Linked DNA regions of Homo sapiens: region 2 is linked to region 1. Evidence: promoter capture Hi-C in human tissues and cell types (Jung and others, 2019). All regions are on one chromosome and are shown on one strand. Each heading gives the region's core, a stretch centred on a gene start or on the middle of the fragment in contact. The rest is flanking DNA. Distances are from core to core; before and after follow the strand shown. Region 1 holds the start of CCT4 (chaperonin containing TCP1 subunit 4). Region 2 overlaps USP34 (ubiquitin specific peptidase 34).

Region 1 (4,462 bases), core at 1,445-3,944:
CCACGAACAAAAATAATTCCAATTTCACAGAAAAAGAAATGTTTGTAACTTGAAACATTTCAGATACTTAAAGCATGTCTCAAAACTTTAAGACTCTCCCAAGAAGCCAATAATGGCATCTTCCAAATTCTGCTCTGTCCTTTATGGCTGACAGATCGACTCCTTACACTGGTAGAACTAGTAGTTTAGTAAGCCCCTAGAGATCATCTAGTTCAACCCTCCTATTTTACAGATGAGGAAAATGAGACCCAAAGGATTTAAGTGGCCTTCCTTAGGTCACATAGCTAATAAGTAGCAGAGCTATTAATAAACTCAAATCCAGTATTTTACATCCCAAAATTAATGCATTTCCTCATCACCCACTTGTTTCCAACATATTACATCAGTTGTCTAAACAAATAACCATAGAATTTATGTGCTACTTGGGAGTATTCTGGTCCTCTGAAGAGAAGTCGGCCTCAGAGGTTTATGGATCTTCATTTCCTAGTGCTAATATCCTTCTTTTTTTTTTTTTTTTTTTTTTGAGACAAAGTCTTGCTCTATCACCCAGGCTGGAGTGCAGTGGCGCAATCTCGGCTCACTGCAACCTCCACTTCCTGGCTTCAAGGGATTCTCCTGCCTCAGCCTCCCGAGTAGCTGGGATTACACCCCCGGTTAATGTTTTGATTTTTAGTAGAGACGGGGTTTCGCCACGTTGGCTAGGCTGGTCTTAAACTCCTGACCTAAAGCGATCCACCCACCTCGGCCTCCCAAAGTGCTGGGATTACAGGCGTGAGCTACTGAGCCAGGCCCCTAGTGCTAATATGCTAAATGTGTGTTAAAGAACAACTTGGCGAGGTGGCTCTCGCCAAGCCTGCAATCCTAGCACTTTGGGAAGCCGAGGCGGGCCTATCACCTGAGCTCGGGAGTTCGAAACCACCCTGTCCAACATGGAGAAACCCCGTCTCTACTAAAAATACAAAATTAGCCGGGCATGGTGGTGCATGCCCGTAATCCCAGCTACTGGGGAGGCTGAGGCAGGAGAATCGCTTGAACCCGGGAGGCGGAGGTTGCGGTGAGCCGAGATGGTGCCACTGCTCCAGCCTGGGCAACAAGAGTGAAACTCCGTCTCAAAAACAAACAAAAACAAACAAACAAACAACACCACCACCACCTCATAATTACAAGATTAAGTACCTTTGAACATTTGTTTCTGAACCTACCACACGCAACTGTCACTTTGCAGGTGCTTAATAATTGTGAGCGAACATTCAACAAACCTCATTTCATAAACTTCCCTACTGAAATATAGTGGTCATAGGAGACCAGCAGTTTAGCTCATGGCTTCTGGTCCTTGCTTTGTATTGGAATACTGCTTCTATCTACTGACTCGTTTACCCTGGGCTTCAGTTCCTTCTTTGGGCTCCAGTTCTCTCACCTTTTAAGTAAAGGATTATTGTGAGGACTAAACGAGATATAAAACGTGTAAAGGTTTAGCACTGTGCTTAGCAGATAACGGAAATAAATGATCTTTATTATAATGTTTACGTTCCCTAAGAGTCAGTGGCTACGTCATGCAGGAGACACTAGTGTAGAACAAGCGGGCGGTGGTAACTAGACAGACCTGATTTGGCAGTCTGTCAAACCTCCACCACCCAGTATCAACCAATACGAGATAACTAACCTCGCCTCATTCCAAATCTCCCTTTTCTGACTCCCTTTCAAAATGAACAAAACTGCATAAAATGCAGGTCTATGTGGCCGGGCAAAAACAGACTCAGTCATATCCCTTAGAGAGTTATTCCGGCGCCCACCCCACCTCGCGGATAGATCCAGCCGGAGTTAAAGGAGGGCACCTCCGGGTGGGCGCGGTGGCTCACGCCTGTAATCCCAGTACTTTGAAACGCTGAGGAGGGTGGACCGCTTTGAGCCGGGGAGGTCAGACCAGCCTGGGCAACACAGCGAAACCCAGTCTCGCTATGTTTCGAATACAAAAATTCGCTAGGCATGGTGGCGGGCACCTGTCGTCCTGGCTAGTTGGGAGGCTGTGGCGGGAGGATCGCTTGGGCCCCGGAGGTCGAGGCTGCAGTGAGCCAAGATCGCCCCACTGCACTCCCGCCTGGACGACAGAGCGAGACTCTGTCAAAAAAAAAAAAAAAAAAAAAAAAGGCCGGGCTTCGTGGCTGACGCCTGTAATCCCAACACTTTGGGAGCCCGAGGCGGGTGGATCACCTGAGGTCGGGAGTTCGAGACCGGCCTGGCCAACATGGTGAAACCCTGTCTCTACTAAAAATACAAAAATTAGCTGGGCATGGTGGCGGACGCCTGTAATCCCAGCTACTCGGGAGGCTGAGGAGGATCGCTTGAACCTGGGAGGCGGAGGCTGCAGTGAGCCGAGATTTTGCGCCACTGCACTCCAGCCTGGGCAACAGAGTGAGACTGTATCCAAAAAAAGAAAAAAAAAAAAAAAAAAAGGAGGGGACCTCATAGCCGTGCAAGGTGGAGTGAGGAAATGCGGATGTCCTCACCACTCGCCTTTAAAATCGCGCGTTGTCATTGCTGCCTCGCGTAAAGGTTCCCCCGGCGCTCTTCACCCACAGCGCCCCGGGCGTACAATCTCGCCAGCCCGGAGCCCACCGCACGCATCCTCCTCGCCCGGCGCGCAGCGGACAGCCTCCTACGTCACGCCAGCGCCGCGCGGCAAGGAAGGCCCCCTTCTCCGCCTCCGCCTCCTCCCGACGCCGGCGCCGCTTTCTGGAAGGTTCGTGAAGGCAGTGAGGGCTTACCGTTATTACACTGCGGCCGGCCAGAATCCGGGTCCATCCGTCCTTCCCGAGCCAACCCAGACACAGCGGAGTTTGCCATGCCCGAGAATGTGGCACCCCGGAGCGGGGCGACTGCCGGGGCTGCCGGCGGCCGCGGGAAAGGCGCCTATCAGGACCGCGACAAGCCAGCCCAGATCCGCTTCAGCAACATTTCCGCCGCCAAAGGTATCACTCTCATGGCCTGACCCGCGGCGCCGCGGGGTTGTGCTCTGCGCTCTCATCGTGGGCTTGAGCGGGTTTGGCTCATTTCCCATTTCTTCGGGTGATCCTCTCTTGTCCTCCCTATAGAAGCAGCCCAGTGGAGGGATCCTTATTTCTGTTTTTCTGCCGATGATCGCCAACCCGGAGTATGGAGGCCTTTGGACTTGCCCCATTTTGCATCTTAATCTCCCTTAGTTTTTCATCCTGCACTGTGCATCATTCATATTGGAGCCGAAAGCAGTTCAAAATGCCGAGGATTGCATGCAGTCTTCACTAGGGATCTGACGCTTGAGGGCTGTCGCTTATTGCTTATTGGAACTGGTAGAATGCACAGTATCTTTCAGCTTTGTTATTCTTATTTAAAGAACTATTAAATAAACTTCACTTGGCACAACTGTTGAGACGAATTGGGTGAACTCTCCGAGTCTAAATTGGGGCGGGGCCCATTGTACTGGGATGGATGTGGGAACCGACTTACGTGTCGTGTTTGAAATAGTTGCGGAAAAGTTACGTTGATGTCGTCTCCGCATGTGCAGTGAAACATAGGCAAATCAAGAAACAATTATTTGTTTTTTTTGTGGAAGTGTGTGGCACACGTTGGAAATCAGGAAGACCAGAGTTTCATTCTCTGCTTCCGTTACTTCATGTCTTAGTGACCTGTAACCTCTGTGCCAAAGATTCACTTATAAAATTGGAGGAAAATGTTTGCTTTTTAGAGTTAAGATTAAGAGAAATCGAGTTGAAATAGAAAAATCTGGAAGGAAAAGTCAGGACAGAGGTTTAGAGATCTTGCCCGAGTGTATATTGAGTATAGTAGTTCTTTTGGGTTGGAGAATAGTAGTATGTTTACAGAAGAGGTGAGATTAGAAAGCTAGGTTGGGGCAGATGTTAAAGGCCTGGTGTCCTGGAAAGTATTTGGCTTAATCTCCCCCAGCTATGGGATCATTTCTTTTTAGCCATCGTGTAGGCTTGCTGTGAGGATTCAGTGAGAAAGCATATAAAGACCCACGTATATAAAGTACACCTTACATGTGTTTGCAGTCATCAGCCCAAGTAACTGGGAATGTGATGGCGCTAAGATAGGTAACGCTGGATGTAAGAAAAAGTAATAGTTTCTAACTTGTCCTAATGAGTTGGAAAGGTCAGAATGGCCAGATTTAGGAGTCATTTGTAAGTTTAGGAGATAATACACCTGGAAACGAAGGTTTGTAGGATAATTGTCTAGGGACCATAGTTGAAGCTTACATTTATTAGATTAGGAACAGAATGTTGAAAGATAAATTTTGGGTCGGGCAGGGTGGCTCACGTCTGTAATCCCAGCAATTTGGGAGGCTGAGGCTGGCGGATCACATGAGGTCAGGAGTTCAAGACCAGCCTGACCAACATGGAGAAACCCCGTCTCTACTAAAAATACAAAATTAGGTGGGTGTGTTGGCGTAGGCCTGTAGTCCCAGCTA
Region 2 (4,298 bases), core at 230-2,729, 550 kb after region 1:
CAGTCAGTTTCTCAGGCTGGAGTGCAGTGACATGATCTTGGCTGACGACAGCCTCTGCCTCCCGGGTTCAAGTGATTCTCCTGCCTCAACCTCCCAAGTAGCTGGGAATGTAGGTGTGCACCACCACGCCCAGCTAACTTTTGTATTTTTAGGTGAGATGGGGTTTTGCCACGTTGGCCAGGCTGGTCTCGAACTCCCGACCTCAAGTGATCTGCTTGCCCTGACCTCTCAAAGTGCTGGGATTATAGGCGTGAGCCACTGCACCCAGCTTGAGGTTTTTTTTTTTTCTCTTTGTGCCTATTTGTTACTCAGTTTTCCTAAAATGAGTACATACTTCTTTTATAGGTAGGAAAATTAAAAAGATCCAAAAGGGACCAGGTACAGTGTCTCACGCGTGTAAGTCCAACACTTTGAGAGGGTGAGATGGGGCATCTATTGAGCCCAGTAGTTTGAGACCAGCCTTGGAAACATAGGAAGACCCCATCTCTACAGAAAAACTTTAAAATTAGCTGGGCATGGTGGCCCGTACCTGTAGTTACAGCTACTTGGGAGGCTGAGGTGGGAAGTCAAGGCTGCAGTGAGCCAAGATCGCACCACTGCACTCCAGCCTGAGCAACACAGTGAGACTTTGTCTCAAAAAAAAAAAAAAAATTGTGCGGACACACACACACACACACAATTTGTTTTGCTTCCCTAGAGACTATATTATATATGGCATTTCACGTTAACTTTTGATATACGCTGTAATTTTAAATGACTATTTTGTAGAATATACTTCTTTAAAATATGGAGTCCTAGATTAGGCAAAATCATCCATATGTAACTTCAGCTGTGAAGACCAACAGTGAATGTCTCTGTTCTAAGATAACAAAAAGCTGCCTTAGTAATTCTTACAGGACTACCACACTGTTGCATAGTCATAAGCTTTTGGTTACAACACAAACTCTTGGAATAAATCAAACAACTAGTGCAATTCAGTATAATAGGATTATTCTTGAGTCTAAAATTAGTGTATTATTACTCTGGATCATTGAACCTTTATCTTCTCTTTGAGACAGTCTCACTGTGTCACCCAGGCCCAAGTGCAGTGGTGCAATCTCAGCTCACTGTAACCTCCGCCTCCCAGGCTCAAGCGAGTCTCCCACCTCAGCCTGCTGAGGAGGTGGGACTACAGGCATGTGCCATCATGGGTGGCTAATTTTTTGTATTTTTTTGTGGAGACCGGGTCTCACTGTGTTTCCCTGGCTGGTCTCAAACTCCTGGGCTCAGTCTGCTCACCTTGACTTCCCAAAGTGTTGGGATTACAGGCATGAACCATTATGCGTTGGCCATTGAGCCTTTGTGGTTGCCCATTGAATCTTTTTATCTTAACCACATTGTTGCCTAGGATTATGTGTTTTGGTATTTGAAATTTTCAGTCTTGAAAGAATTTGTGAAATGTAAGTTTGACTATAACACTTCCCTTTTATGCTTTTGTTAGTTTTGTAAGCATATCAGTAGTCAGAACTACTTGGGCAAAAAAGTTGATAAGTCATTATAACATCTCATAGTCATTATAGGAGAAATTCTACAATTTAATCTTTATTGGAACGAGTTTTATATTTGATTTTGTAAAGTTTCCTTTTTCATTGAAACATAAATTATTATCACCAGGCCAAAATTATCTTTCCCATTCTGTGTTTTATTAATTTATAGTCTAAAAGCAGTACTTTCTGTCATTTAAAAACAAATTTTATCAGTTTTAATAAAATGTTTTAGTGCTTTGGGATGACTTTGACTCTGTCTGGTCATTATAGCACTTAAAATGTGTGTCTTTGTTCTTTGGAATTTGATTCTTTTAAATGGGAGAAAAGTTGGAAGTTTTTAGATAATCTTAGGAAAAACTCTTAAAAATCTTTAGCCATGTATAATGTAATTATTCCTCAATAATTCAGCACTTATAAATTCTGGAGAAAAGCATTCCTTTAGGGTAGGAGTAGAAGGAAGATGAGTCTTATTTCTACATTCCTACTTTTGGTTTGTGTCTTTCATGAACCACACCATTATTCACTGAACTCAGTCAATAACCACTTAATGCCTGGCGTCTTATTTCTCTAACGTCAAACATATACTTGCTTCCACATTGCATTTTATAAATGAAAACATGTTTATTGAAGAAAATTCAGGAAGTGAATAAAATTTACTTCCTAAATTTGTGAAAAATTTTTTCATGAAGCAGTATTGGCTTCTAAGATTAAAATAAGTTTAGTTCTTCATTAGAATTTGTTTTGCCTCTTTTAAGGCTCATGCAGCCAACCTCCTTTCCTACTTCCAGGATTTCTATGTCAGTATCTGTCCTGTACCTGTTCCTTTCAGAGGATAGGCAGACTCAGATCTACTTGAAGTTTTAAAGTAATTTCCTTTCCCCTTTCTGCTCCTTATACTTTTGAGGTATGTGGTGTGCTTCCATTAGTGACGTGGTTCATAAGGTCATGATTCTCAATTTGAATGCAAATCATATTGAGAATTTAGGAGAAAATGGTAATGACTTATGAAGAAATAGTTTCATTTAAGAAACATCTTTAAATGCTCTTCACTTGCTTTTTTACCCAGATATTTATAGTGTGTTTTACCTTAAAGATCTTGGATTGGAATTTTTTAAACTTGCAGTTCTTGCCCTAATATGTAAAATGAATTTATACTTCTGAGAAAAAAAGTTTAATGTTTGTGTAATAATATGTCTCTATGCAAGATTCATTAAATCTTTTAGCATTTAAAATTTTAAATGGCTGAATTTCTATAAAAAGAATTACTAAAATTATTTTGTGAATGTTTCTGCTGTTTCAGATCAGTAGTAATTTCACTTCGTCTTCTTCCAAAACTATTTGGTACTTTTCAGCAGTTTGGGAGCAGTTACGATACACACTGGATAACAATGTAAGTAAATAAAAGAAAAAAGTATTTATTTTAAAGATTTTTTTCTAATTATAGTTATCTAAAGGTTTTGACTAACCTACAAGCTTTTACTCTGTACCAGGAAAATTTGAGTTTCATGTGGTTTGTTTTCTTAGATTTTTCTGCCACTTACCCCTGTAGAGATTATATCCTGATCAGTAGGAAAATCTGTGTTTTGTTTTCTTTGGAGTTTGAGAACAGTACTTTAGCAATTAATACTCTAATTTTAGGGAGATTTTTAGCGTATGCAGCTACAGCAGAGTACTTTTGAAGAAGAGCCACACTAAAGTAAACTCTGGCATGCCTTTAATTTTTCCCATTTCTAGGAATTGGCTGTAGACCTAATGTCATGTTTGGGGTAATCTTGACACTACCTTATTACAGGTTGAGTATGCCTAATCTGAAAAATCTAAAATCTGAAATGCTCCATAATCCAACATTTTTGGAGCATCAGTAGGACACTCAAAGGAAATATTCATTGGAGCATTTTGGAATTTGGATTTTTGGATTAGTTATGTTCAACTGCTATGCATTCTGCGAATATTACGGAATCTGAAAAAATTTGAAACACTTCTGGTCTCCAGCATTTTGGATAAGGGATATTCAACTAGTTACTCCATTTATGGAGAACTTATGATTAATGAATGTTACAATAATTCTTCCAGAGGTAGAACTTTTATGTGAAATCGACCCCATGTTTTGGTAATAAGTCTAGAGAAAGTTGTCTACCACAAACAATACATTAAGAAGATGTGTTGTATGCTTTATTCTAAATAAGCTTTTGGAGAGATTTCGGAGACATTTGAATTTTAGGGAAAATTCGACTTGTTGAAGGATTCATTTGTGAGATCAAGTTCTCAATTCTAAGCTTAGGTGGTAAGAACACTTGCTTGCTTTCACAGTGGAGTATCACTTTTATAGTTCTTGGAAGTCTGCACTATAATTCCAGATTAGATGAAGTTAATTCTTCTGAGTCATATACCTTGCTTCTAATTGTTCTTTTAAAGGGAATATGTTTAATCTGGACCTTTATTATTATTTAGAAGTATCTTAGTCTCTTTCTTTGGTTAATACTACAGTAAGAATCCAGTGAAGGTTCTGTTTTTGCAAGGAAGGTCCTTCAGCTTCCAAAAGGAGGGGTAAGGGAAAGCATTTAACATCACTGAAGAACAAGAATAGTGTGAGCCATTTTTCATTGCCTCTTTCTATAATTTTTAAGTGGCTGAATTTCAAAATTCTAATGCAGTAAAGGCAGTCATTTGGTGCTAACACGGGCGAGCAGGTGTCATTATAGTCAGTGGAGGTGGTTCATATTAAGGAGTAACTTTCTTGTATAGAAGGGGCAGTCTCTGAATATTCAGTTA

The links. Contacts are between HindIII fragments. The study calls those that stand out against the background at their distance.
Region 2: a fragment that was not itself captured here is called in contact with the fragment with the promoter of CCT4 in region 1 in 4 of the 25 tissues and cell types used here (bladder, dorsolateral prefrontal cortex, hippocampus and 1 more).

Annotation. Positions count from the first base shown.
Region 1 is chr2:61,886,888-61,891,349 of GRCh38, reverse strand. CCT4 (chaperonin containing TCP1 subunit 4) reads left to right here and starts at 2,694. Exons shown (of 14, transcript NM_006430.4): 1 at 2,694-2,969. The coding sequence starts at 2,843. It also overlaps a transcript of COMMD1 not described here. RefSeq lists enhancers at 1,425-1,984, 2,924-3,003, 2,545-3,104, 3,105-3,666. The HindIII fragment of the contact is 14,932 bases long and covers 1-4,462 here.
Region 2 is chr2:61,332,500-61,336,797 of GRCh38, reverse strand. It overlaps USP34 (ubiquitin specific peptidase 34), which reads left to right. Exons shown (of 80, transcript NM_014709.4): 19 at 2,827-2,916. Among named protein-coding and RNA genes, the nearest start is that of SNORA70B, 83 kb to the left of the region's middle. The HindIII fragment of the contact is 6,875 bases long and covers 1-4,298 here.